Regions from separate parts of the Homo sapiens genome. Here all the other regions are linked to region 3. Evidence: promoter capture Hi-C in 16 types of primary human blood cells and fetal thymus (Javierre and others, 2016). All regions are on one chromosome and are shown on one strand. Each heading gives the region's core, a stretch centred on a gene start or on the middle of the fragment in contact. The rest is flanking DNA. Distances are from core to core; before and after follow the strand shown.

Evidence for each region. Contacts are between HindIII fragments. The CHiCAGO score rates a contact against its expected background, and 5 or more counts as called.
Region 1: a fragment that was not itself captured here is called in contact with the fragment with the promoter of KCNIP2 in region 3 in 5 of 17 cell types (naive B cells, total B cells, endothelial precursors and 2 more); the score reaches 9.9 in naive B cells.
Region 2: a contact is called between a fragment that was not itself captured here and the fragment with the promoter of KCNIP2 in region 3, in 12 of 17 cell types (naive B cells, total B cells, fetal thymus and 9 more). The highest score is 18.4, in naive B cells.

What each region holds. Positions count from the first base shown.
Region 1 is chr10:102,026,795-102,030,722 of GRCh38, reverse strand. ARMH3 (armadillo like helical domain containing 3) reads left to right here. Exons shown (of 26, transcript NM_024541.3): 5 at 978-1,085. Among named protein-coding and RNA genes, the nearest start is that of ARMH3, 27 kb to the left of the region's middle. The HindIII fragment of the contact is 2,439 bases long and covers 1,427-3,865 here.
Region 2 is chr10:102,075,160-102,079,025 of GRCh38, reverse strand. No RefSeq gene overlaps it. Among named protein-coding and RNA genes, the nearest start is that of HPS6, 12 kb to the right of the region's middle. The HindIII fragment of the contact is 7,564 bases long and covers 1-3,866 here.
Region 3 is chr10:101,841,634-101,845,805 of GRCh38, reverse strand. It overlaps KCNIP2 (potassium voltage-gated channel interacting protein 2), which reads left to right and starts at 2,006. Exons shown (of 10, transcript NM_173191.3): 1 at 2,006-2,310. The coding sequence starts at 2,238. It overlaps ARMH3 (armadillo like helical domain containing 3), which reads left to right. Exons shown (of 26, transcript NM_024541.3): 26 at 1-207. RefSeq lists a silencer at 1,784-2,033 and an enhancer at 1,989-2,494. The HindIII fragment of the contact is 15,452 bases long and covers 1-4,172 here.

The DNA.
Region 1 (3,928 bases), core at 1,397-3,896, 180 kb before region 3:
TATTATTATTTTTGAGACGGAGTTTCACTCTTGTTGCCCAGGCTGGAGTGCAATGGAGCGATCTCGGCTCACTGCAACATCCGTCTCCTGGGTTCAAGGATTCTCCTGCCTCAGCCTGCTGAATAGCTGGGATTACAGGCATCTGCCTCCACACTTGGCTAATTTTTTGTATTTTTAATAGAGACTGGGTTTCACCATGTTGGCCAAGCTGGTCTCGAACTCCTGACCTCAGGTGATCCACTTGCCTCAGCCTCCCAAAGTGTTGGGATTACAGGCTTGAGCCACTGCGTCCGGCCCCAAAATTAATTTTAAATAAAGGAAAACTCCACCAATCCCATGATTGAACTCAAGAACTATTTTTAATCTTTGAATATCACCTCCCAGTCTGCTTTATAATTTTTAAAAACAAGATGACAAGAAAATAAAAAATGAGGATGACAGCAGTCTCAGTTACTGTTCCTCTTTTATTTGCTGGATTTTGCACATACTGAGACTCAGACTGGGCTGGGCACAGTGGCTCACATTTCTAATTCCAGAACTTTGGGAGGCTGAGGCAGGAGGATCACTGGAGCCCAGGTGTTGGAGACCAGTCTGGGCAACATGGTGAGACCCTGTCTCTACAAAAAATAAAAAAATTAACCAGGTGTGGTGGAGCACACCTGTCATCTCAGCTACTTGGAAGGCTGAGGTGGGAGGATCACCTGAGCCCAGGAGGTCAAGGCTGTAGTGAGCTGTGATTATGCCACTGCACTACAGTCTTGGTGAAGAGCGAGACCTTGTCTCAAAAAAAAAAACAAACAAACAAAAAAACCGAACCAAACGGAAAAAACCAAAAAAACTCAGACTGTGTTTTGGAGCTCAGAACTCAGAGAAATTGAATTTATTCAGTGTCAGCTGTGTAAGGATGAGGCTGCAATGTGGGTCTACAGACCCTGAGACTTCCTCTCCAGAAAGAATTCTTTCTCTCATTTCTGCAGACCCTGTGCGCACTCATTCGAGGAGTCCATCAAAAGAATAAGTCTACCTCTGGGTTTGACATTATCAACATGCTGATGGGCTTTGACAAGGCGGAGCTGTGCATGAAGGTGAGGCATAAGCTGCAGATGTGCCTGTGGATGGCAGCTTCTGACAGCTGTTCCTGGACACTATCAGCAGACAAATGTACTCAAAGATTTGGACTCAGAAAGATACAGATGATTGAATTTGGCCTTGCATTTAGATGTTTTTATTTCACAGATTTGCTTTATCTGAATAAAGGAAAATTTTAAATTCAAATTTGAATGGAGGTATTCTTTCCCTGCGGGATAAAGACAGAATAGTTTATTTTATTACTCGTATCATATGATCATACATTCTTAAGAACATTTATGAATTTAAATAAAATATAACAACATACAAGGGTAACTTTAATTCTAAACTTTAAGCTTATTTAACACAATTACTTTGATTTTATCAGAATTTTTCTTTCTGCTGTTTGACACTATCTTTTTAAAATAACAGCCTTATAATTCATATAGCATAAATCCACCCTTTTAGATTGTACAATCTGACCAGGCGCCATGGCTCATGCCTGTAATCCTAGCGCTTTGGGAGGCCAAGGCAGGCGGATTGCTTGAGCTAAGGAGTTTGAGACCAGCGTGGGCAACATGGCAAAACCTCGTCTCCACAAAAAATACAAAAATTATCTGCGTATGGTGGCACGTGCCTGTAAGTCCCAGCTAGTTGGGGGAGGCTGAAGTGGTAGGACTGCTTGAACCTGGGAGGTGGAGGTTGCAGTGAGCCAAGATCATGCCACTGCACTCCAGGCTGGGCAACAGAGCAAGACCCTGTCTCAAAAAGAAGAAAATAAATAAAGTGTACAATCCAGTGGATTTTAGTATATTCATAGAATTATACAATTATCATCACTATTAATTTCAGAACATTTTCATCACCCTAGAAAGAAAACCTGTACCCATTAGCAGTCATTCCCCAATTCTCCACTCTTCTCAACCCTTGGCAAGCATTAATCTGCTTTATGTCTCTATGGGTTTAGCTGTTCTGGACACCTCATATAAATGGAATCATATCATATGTAGCCTTTTGAGTCTGGCAGTTACTTCACATAATGTTTTTGTGGTTCCTCCATATTATAGGATGTATTAGTATTTCATTCCTTTTTATTGCCTAATAATATTCCTTTGGCTGGAGATACTCACTATATTTTGTTTAGCCATTCCTCAGTTGATAGGTATTTGGGTCCTTTCAACATTTTGGCTATTAGGAATAATGCTGCTATGAATGTTCATGTATAAGTTTCTGTATGGATGTATGCTCGTATTTATTTATTTATTTATTCATGAGATGAGGTCTTGCTATGTTGACCCAGCTGGTCTTGAACTCCTGGCCTCAGGTGATCCTCCTGCCTCAGCCTTCCAAAGTGCTGAGATTATAAGCATGACCCACTGCACTCAGGCCACACATATGTTTTAAATTCTCTTGGGCATATACCTAGGTGTAGAATTGCTGGGTCACATGGTAACTCTATATTTGACATTTTAGGAACTACCAAACCATTTTTCCATAGGGGCTGTTCCATTTTATAATTTCACTAGCAATGTATGAGGGTTCAAGTTTCTGCACATTATGTCAACAGTTGTTTTTGTCTGTCTTTTCTTTATTTTTTTTTTTTGGAGAAAAGTCTTTCATATCCTTTGTCCATTTCTAGATGGGGGTGTCTTTTTTTGTTGAGTTATAAGAGTTCTTTTCGTATTCTGAATATGTCCCTTATCAGATATATGATTTGCAGTGTTGGACACCATATTGAATGAATGTTATTTGAACTTTGAAGAACAGTCTTCTGTCACTCATTAAATTTAAAATAAATCTGTATACCAGAGAATCTTTATAATGATTAGGTTACAAAAAAAGTTATTAATATATAATTATAAATATACAAATATTTAATACTTAGAGTTATTTTTAAATTCTGGCCTTTTGCAGTTCATATATATGTCATGGTAAAATCCCAGATAGCTCCTCATTCTCATAATTCTAACTACTGCTTGTATGTTGATGACTGCTAAGTGTCTGTCTTTAGCCTTAATGTCTCTTCATGATCTCAGAGTTGTATCCTCTGCAAGTACTTGCTGAGTGTACTCACTGACACATCCCATAAGTACTTCTTGCTTGATATATCCAGAATGGAGCTCACTGTTTCTCCTGCATCTCTTCTTCCTCATTCATTCTCTTTCAGAATGGGAGCAGCTGTCTTCACAGGCCCCACGCTGTGATGAGGGGACTTCTCATCTTTTATCTCCAGATGATCACCAAGTTCAGCTAATTTTACCTCAGTTCATATTCCTCATACTTGTCTTCTTCTGTTACCACCATCTCTATTATGCTATCTCTCACCAGAACTATTACAGTGATGCCTTCATTCATTCTTTTTTTTTTTTTTTTTTTGAGACGGAATCTCACTCTGTCACCTAGGCTGGAGTCCAGTGGTGCAATCTCGGCTCACTGCAACCTCCCTGTCCTGGGTTCAAGCGATTCTCCTGCCTCAGCCACCTGAGTAGCTGGGATTACAGGCATGCGCCACCACACTCAGCTAATTTTTGTATTTGTAGTAGAGACAGGGTTTCACCCTGTTGGCCAGGCTGGTCTCGAACTCCTAACCTCAGGTGATCTGCCTGCCTTGGCCTCCCAAAGTGCTGGGATTACAGGCATGAGCCACTGCACCCAGCCCATTCATTCTTTTGACAAATATTTGTTGGGCCCCTATATGCCAGGTACTGTGGTAGGCACTGAGGATACAAGAGGCAAATAAGACATGGCAACTGTCTCAGGAAATTGAAGTCCTCATTAGTCTCCATGCTTACAAGCTTACCATCTTTAAATCCATCATCCACACTGACACCACAACTGTGTGGCATTAGTGTATATATCT
Region 2 (3,866 bases), core at 398-2,897, 230 kb before region 3:
TTTTGAAAATGAACCTCCATGTGATCAACAACAAAATGGGACTGTTCTCTAGGATGGGAGGTGTCCCAATATGGGTGGGGAAGCCATCAGGGTTAAACCCCTAGGAAGATCCTTCTGTCAATTCAAGCTAGCTCCCTGAACACTGTTTTGTCCTATCTTACAAGGACAAGACCATTCAGCTGGGTTCCTTTTCTTTCCACTCTGGCGATTCCTCTCCCCTCCCCTCCCCTTCCCTTTTCTTTCTTTCTTTTTTTTTGAGGCAGGGTCTCTCCCTGTCACCCAGGCCGGAGTACAGTGGTGCAATCACAGCTCACTGTAGCCTTGACCTCCTGGGCTCAAGCAGTCCACCTCAGCCTCCCGAGTAGCTGGGACTATAGGTGTGCACCACCATGCCCGGCTAATTTTTTTTTACTTTTCATAGAGACAAGGTCTCACTATGTTGCCCAGGCTGGTCTCGTACTCCTGAGCTTAAGTGATCTTCCTGCCTCGACCTCCCAAACTGCTGAGATTACAAGTATGAGCCACTGTGCCCAACGACTCTGGGGATTTTTTTCCTGAACTGGGAGCCATATAATATCCAAATTGATAATCTGCACCCTCTTTCTTCCTTCCTACAAGCTGCAAGAGCCTCAGCCTGCTTACTGTCTACTTACTCAATCCCTGGGACTCCTCATTCCTCTAGATTGGAAGCTGAGGGGGGTACCATCTCCTCAGCTCTCCCCACACTTATTTGCCTCCCTGTTCACATCTCCCTAAAGAAAACTACATGGTACCTTTTCCTTTGAAGGATTTTACAGTTGATCATTGTGGGGAAAGAGACCCAAGGTTACCAAGTCGCTAGTCTGGGGGAAGGTGTGAAAATTTAGGAAATCTAGGAAACTTCTGCCAGCCCTGGTCTCTAGAATGAAAGGGCAGCCAGTAGTGTGGCTCTTTCTCCTCTCCTCTTAGTCCTGGCTTGAAGACACCAAGCAGGGCAACTGTTCATGTCCTCCTTGCCTCAGACATGACTGCATTTGAGCTTCTTCCAATTGGTTATTTATTTATTTATTTATTTATTTTTCTTGAGACGGAATCTTGCTCTGTCGCCCAGGCTGGAGTGCAGTGGCGCGATCTCGGCTCACTGCAATCTCTGCCTCCTGGGTTCAAGGGATTCTCCTGGCTCAGCCTCCCAAGTAGCTGGGATTACAGGCACCCGCCACCACACCTGGCTAATTTTTGTATTTTTAGTAGAGAGGGGGTTTCATCATGTTGGTCAGGCTGGTCTCAAACTCCTGACCTCAGGTGATCTGCCTGCCTCAGCCTCCCAAAGTGCTGGGATTACAGGCGTGAGCCTCCGTGCCTGGTCCTAATTTGTTATTCTCACCTCTGTATTTCCTCAGCCCCATGCGGGAACAGACCCCTTAAGGAAATATTTCTAGGAGAGCCACAAAGACTAAAGAATCTCAGTCCAAGGAGGTCTTAGTAGGGCTGACCTCCAATCTCCCTTTTCCTATAATCAGTCCCATGGAGTTGGGGTTAGAGAAAATTGCGATATTATCAGGGGACCCGTAGTCTCTCTATGGTACCCCAAAAATAGTGAACAAGAAGGCACAGATGTTGTAGTAGGTATGGGATGGGGGTATCTTCTGAGCTCCAGATCCCACTTTTACATTACCATCCCATTTCTACCATCTGCCCCCATCATTGTGAATACGCAGCTGGAAGACATTGGGATGTCAACAGAATTGATGAAACAGAAGATTTGCTGAATTCAAATTTTAAGAAATTTGGCCAGGCATGGTGGCTCACTCCTGTAATCCCAGCACTTTGGGAGGCCAAGGCAGAAGGATCACAAGGTCATGAGATGGAGACCATCTTGGCCAACATGGTGAAACCCCATCCATACTAAAATACAAAAAAAATTAGCGGGTATGGTGGCACACACCTGTAGTTCCAGCTACTCGGGAGGCTGAGGCAGGGGAATTGCTTGAACCCAGGAGGTGGAGGTTGCAGTGAGCCAAGATCACGCCACTGCACTCCAGCCTGGTGACAAAGCGAGGCTCCATATCATTTAAAAAAAAAAAAATTGGGGCCAGATGTGGTGGCTCATCCCTGTAATTCCAGCACTTTGGGAGGCCAAGGAGGGTGGATCACCCGAGGTAAGGAGTTCGAGACCAGCCTCGCCAACATAGAGAAACCCTGTCTCTACTAAAAATACAAAAATTAGCCAGGCGTGGTGGCTGCGCGCCTGTAATCCCAGCTACTTTGGAGGCTGAGGCAGGAGAATCACTTGAACCCGGGAGGCGGAGGTTGCAGTGAGCTGAGATCGCGCCACTGCACTCTAGCCTGAGTGACAGCAAGATTCCATCTCAAAAAAAAAAAAAAAAAGAAATTTGGTGTACTGATAGACTCTGTGGATTTGACTATTAATATGCACAAGTTCAGAATCCATCCCTTTGAGAGACAGGGATATGAGCACTGACCTGGGATAGATGTGAGGAAAGAAAAGGGGTGACCAGGGCTTGACAGGGTATGATGGGCAACTGAAGCTGGGCGACAGAGCTGGGAGGCACAGGGCAGACTTGCAACTGACTGAGATCTGCTGCTCTTTTGTTTTCTTTTTCTTTTCTTTTTTTATTTTTATTTTTATTTTATTTTTTGAGATGGAGTCTCATTCTGTTGCCCATGCTGGAGTGCAGTTGTATAGTCTCTGGTCACTGCAACCTCTCATTCCAGGTTCAAGCGATTCTCCTACCTCAGCCTCCCAAGTAGTTGGGATTACAGGCACATGCCACCACGCCCAGCTAATTTTTGTATTTTTAGTAGAGATGGGGTTTCACCGTGTTGGCCAGGATGGTGTCGATCTCCTGACCTTGTGATCCCCCCGCCTCGGCCTCTCAAAGTGCTGGGATTACAGGCATGAGCCACCACTCCCGGCCAGCCTTTTTTTTTTTAATAGATGAGGTCTTGCTCTATCACTCAGGCTGAGTAGCAAGATCATAGCTCTCTGCAGCCTCAAACTCCTGGGCTCAAGTGATCCTCCTGCCTTAGCCTCTTGGTAGCTAGGATTACACTGCTCCCAGACCTTTTGTTTTATTGATGACTCCTCAGCTGTCCCCTGCCTCCTTGACCCCTTGGAGCTTAGATTCCAAAACACTATTCAGAAGAGAAAAATGGATGGACCTCAAGTTCTCTTCTGGTGTTCCCTCATGCCAAGCACTGAGGTCTCTACCCCTTGTGGGTCTGACTGCTGATATTAAGGGGATGATGAACAGGCTAACAGAGTGAGAAACATGGGATCAAGAGCCCATTCCCAGCTCCAGTTAGATTTGCCATGAAAACAAAACCACAACCCTTCAACGTTTTCTGGGGCCACCTGGGAAGGTGCTGCATTCTACAAAGAGAAACTCTATCATTTATTAGAGAAGCCACAGAGGTTTAGGAAATCCAGTGTTCCCTCCCTCCTTTCCTCCCTCCCTCTCTCTCTCTCTCTCTCTTTCTGACAAGGTCCTGCTCTGTCACCCAGGCTGCAGTGGCATGATCTCGATTCAGTGCAGCCTCAACCTGCCAGGCCCAAGTGATCCTCCTACCTCAACCTCCCGAGTAGCTGGGACTACAGGTGCATACCACCATGCCTGGCTGATTTTTTGTATTTTTTATGGAGACGGGGGTCTTACTATGTTTCCCAGCTGGTCTTGAACTCCTGACCTCAAGCGATCCACCCACCTCGGCCTCCCAAAGTGTTAGGATTACAGGCGTGAGCCACCATGCCTGATCCTCGCTCTCTTTCTGACTCCCCTTTTCTGGTTTGATGCTTCCTGGCTATCCACTTCCAACCTTCCACTTTGGAGCCATTTCCATCTCTTCTTCCCAAGCAACTCTTTTTT
Region 3 (4,172 bases), core at 757-3,256:
TATGCACTAGTTCCAGAGAAGCCACTAACAGGCTGCCATGTGTAGATGTAGGTTCTTAAGAGATCACAGGCTGGGTCATCTGATCACTGGATGGATAGCTCAGCCTGGGGCATTTAGTGTTTTCCCTGGTGATAAATCCCCAAGGCAGCTGGATTTGGAGCTGGTGGCAAGTTGAAATTATTAAAAATTGATTTGTGTGGGACTGTCTTTAGTGTTGCTTTTTTTTTCCTTAATCTCTGTTGCCCAGACTCATTCCTCAAAGATAGAGGTAAGGTAATCTCCTAGGTGCTGCTGCCATCTGGCTAGGGGACCCCTACCTGCCCTTGTGAACTCTCCTCCTTCCTCTGAGTCTCCTGGCCCTAGTAGAGGTCAGTTGGGTTCGGAGAGCTGTAACCTCTCTTGTCCTCTGGGTAGAAGGAGGGAGAAGAGAGTTAGTTCCCTTATCTCCAAACTTAGTGGTATTGAGGAGGCAAGCCAACCCATTTGGCCACTTACGGATTCCTGCCAGCCTTTCCTCCAAGTGAATGAGGACAGGTCTAGGGCATGGGGCACTAAGCAGAGGGCTCCTTGCCCTCCATTGTAAAGGCCCTTCTCTTGACCAGTTTATTCACATATACCTATCCCAGAACTCCAAACGAGAGTGCCCATTCTCTCCTGGAAATCAACCTTAACAGGAGCTGCCCAAGCACTTTCTATGCCCAGCCTCTATACCAGGTCTGTGGAGCCTCCTCCAGAGCCAAGGGAGATCCAAGCGCAGGGCATTGCTCCTAAAGACAATCTTACCCTCAGCCACTTGTCCCCCTCTTAGGCCTGAACTCCCGCCACAATTCCTGCTGGGTTGATTAAATCAAGTGGTTGGAAATTAAAGCCAATTGAAGAGATTAAGTGTGCTTGAGTCACTTTAAAGTTTTTGGTCTTAACAGGTCACTCCTTTGGACCCACCAGACAAGGTCCCCTCATCCTCATAGCAACGGGTTGGGGGGCTTTTGGGTGTGGAGCCCAGGAAGCATCCTGAGGAAGGTCAGACCTGTGACGCTCAAAACACTCAGGATCCATTCCTGGGAGATGAGGCAGCCCAGCTTCCGTGCTAGCCCTGCCTTTGGAAAGGAGCTAATCTTAAGGAAGGGGTTTCATAACAAGGGCATTTCTTTCCTACTCTGTATCCTGACTTGGATCCCCAAACCTGTCAGTTGCTCCCCATATCTGCTGGAAAACAAGGAATCTAGGACAGGACAGGTGACAAAAGAGAAGGGCAGAAAAGTTGCTGCAGGGGAGGAACAAAAGAGCAAGGATGTCTTGAGAAACTGACCTGGTTCACTAGTTTTTTTATCTTCCTAGTCGGCCTATGGGGTTCATTAGATCAGTGAAGGAGGCACCCTGAGAGTGAATAGGTTCCAGAGACGGGGTCCTGGAGTGGGTGAGAGTTGGGGTCCTTCTGGAACTTGAGAGAAGATGAAACAGTAGTCCATTGGCCCACGATGAGCCTGCTAATATTAGAGGCTGGGTTGACTCTTCCTTTGCATCCCTAACCTGCTTTAAGCACGGTGGGGACTGTCTGGGACCACGAGAGACGCATACACGGGAGGAGGAACAACAGAGAAAATACAGGCTGACATGGAGACAAACGGAGCGGGGACTCAGATATGATACCCCAGGCTCTGCCTCAGCCAGAACTGTGTTGACGAAGGGGGACGGGGTGCCTGAGAATTGGGGGCGGGGTTTCCTCCTCTCAGTGGGGCTCTTCTGTCCCGCGCTCTCCTCCTCCCCCACCCCCCCCCCCCGCCAAGCCCCGTGACTTCTGCTTTAGGGGCAGATTGCTGGGGAGCTAGTCTCCTTCCCCGCACTTTGCAGTTCACCCTTTCACCGGGTGCCTCCCCCGGGCTGCAAAGGGTGGGGGGCGGGGGTAGGGGGAGCCAATCCCGGCAGCGCCAAAGAGGGGAGGAGGCGGTGACAGCCGCGGGGAGGGGGCGGGAGGAGAGAGGCAGCTCGGCTCGGCTCCGCGCTCAGCTCCGCTCTGCCTCCGGCTCTGCGCTCACCTGCTGCCTAGTGTTCCCTCTCCTGCTCCAGGACCTCCGGGTAGACCTCAGACCCCGGGCCCATTCCCAGACTCAGCCTCAGCCCGGACTTCCCCAGCCCCGACAGCACAGTAGGCCGCCAGGGGGCGCCGTGTGAGCGCCCTATCCCGGCCACCCGGCGCCCCCTCCCACGGCCCGGGCGGGAGCGGGGCGCCGGGGGCCATGCGGGGCCAGGGCCGCAAGGAGAGTTTGTCCGATTCCCGAGACCTGGACGGCTCCTACGACCAGCTCACGGGTGAGTCAGTGACGTGGGGGTCGCGGGAGGGAGGGTGGATTCCATTCCTCCAGACCCTTCCGCCTCTCCGACCCCGGCCTGGCCCGCACCCACACTCTGCCCCATTCCCAGGCACTCTTATGGCCGGTCTGGGCGGCAGGACACTGGGGGTTCAAAGCCTTGGGTCCCGCAGGGGTTGGGGAGGAACAGAAGAGGCAGGTGTGGAGAGGCAGCAGGTGTGGGCGTATGTGACACAGGGCTGAGAGGGTGTCTGGAGTGGGAGGTGTTACGTGCGTGAGCACCTGTCATTCTGTGTGTGTGTGTGTGTGTGCGCGCGCACCTCCCACAGCTGGTTGCCATGTGCCCTGGGCTTGGTGACAGCTAGGGTGAGTGTGATTGTATGTGGCAGTGCAATTGTATGGTCTCGTCAGATGTTTGAGTTTGCGTAGGACCCTGGTTGTACTGATGAAGTTGTTTTGACCATGTGTCTCTATGTGCAACGATGTGTTGTGAGTGTGTAATTCTGTATGAAGTGGTGTGTAACTACCAGAATGTGTCAGGGCTCTACTTTAGGGTGGCTTGTCTCTTTGTAAGCCTTCATGACCATAAGCCCTCTGGGCAAGAATTTGTTAAAGTAGGTTGTGTTGTGTTTTGTGGTTGTGAGATTAGTGTTCAGTGCTAGTTGTGTACTTTCATGTGGTGATGTCTGCAGCGGGGCTCTGTGAGTGTCTATGACGTGTCTCATCCCTGCTGCCTCTCTGGCTTCCTGGTACAGATAGGGGTCTTTAGTACACCCCACTCCTTCACCAATTTTTCCACAAATAGCCCAGGTGGACCCAAGGAGGGACTTTAGTGTTCAGCTGCCCAGTCTGGTTTCCAAGAGACCTTATGGCTCCAGCACCTGGCCCCTGTAGGGAGGCTTTAGTTAGTGCTGGGTCAGCCCTCTCTCCCCACACCAAATCATGTACTGAGATTATTCTTACAACTGAATCCTTCAACCCCCAACAAACCTTTCAGAACTTCACTCAAACCCCAGGAAAACACATCCTCTTCCTTCCCCTCCAGAGACAGAGCTAGAAGCTCTAGGCCTGGGAAGTGCCATGTGGTGTCCTGCATGTCCACCAAACCACTTGGCTGCCCGGGCATCCTCTCTTTCCCACATGGGGAGGTATGTGAGGCCAGTACATCTGTGCATGTGCATGTTCCTGGGTTTGGTAGGAAGAGCCATGTGTTTGTGTAGGTGACTGTGTCACCCTGGGTACATTTCCATGTATGTGTTTGTGTCTCTCATTGTGCAGCCTGCTCTAGAAAGCCAGCAGAGTGGGAGGAGGGAGGCTGTCTCCCTGAGGCCAAAACAAAGCTGGGGAGGTGGAGGGAGGCCATGATCCTTGTCCTTCCTGAGGGGAGTGAGATTGAGACCTGGGAAGGGGGAGGGGACTAGGATGAGGTGCCTTGAGCATGTGTCTTCCCCCATCCCCCATCACTGTCCCTAGGGAGGCCCTAGTCAGGATCAGGGGAGCCACTCAGGCTGGCCCCAGATGAGAGACCATGCCAGATGTGCCTCAGAGCTGGATGGAATCCAAAGGACCCACTGTCCAGCTCTTCCATGAATTCTGTTCCCATCACCAGCTTAGGATTCTTGAGAGTAGTAAGGGCCTAGGGGCCTTCAATAGTATCACATTAGTCAGTGTTTGCTTCCAGCTTTAATGGGTTCTCACCCTTAGTGAAACCATCCCTTCCCCACTTGGCTATTTGAATGAGATTGGGTGGGGGAAGCATTTGTATTTGGAGATGCCCTGCCCCAGTTCAGTCAGGAATGGAAGTGTACCAGCTATGTGACTTTTGTTCTCTTGGCCTCACCTTTCTCATCTGTAAAAGGGAAT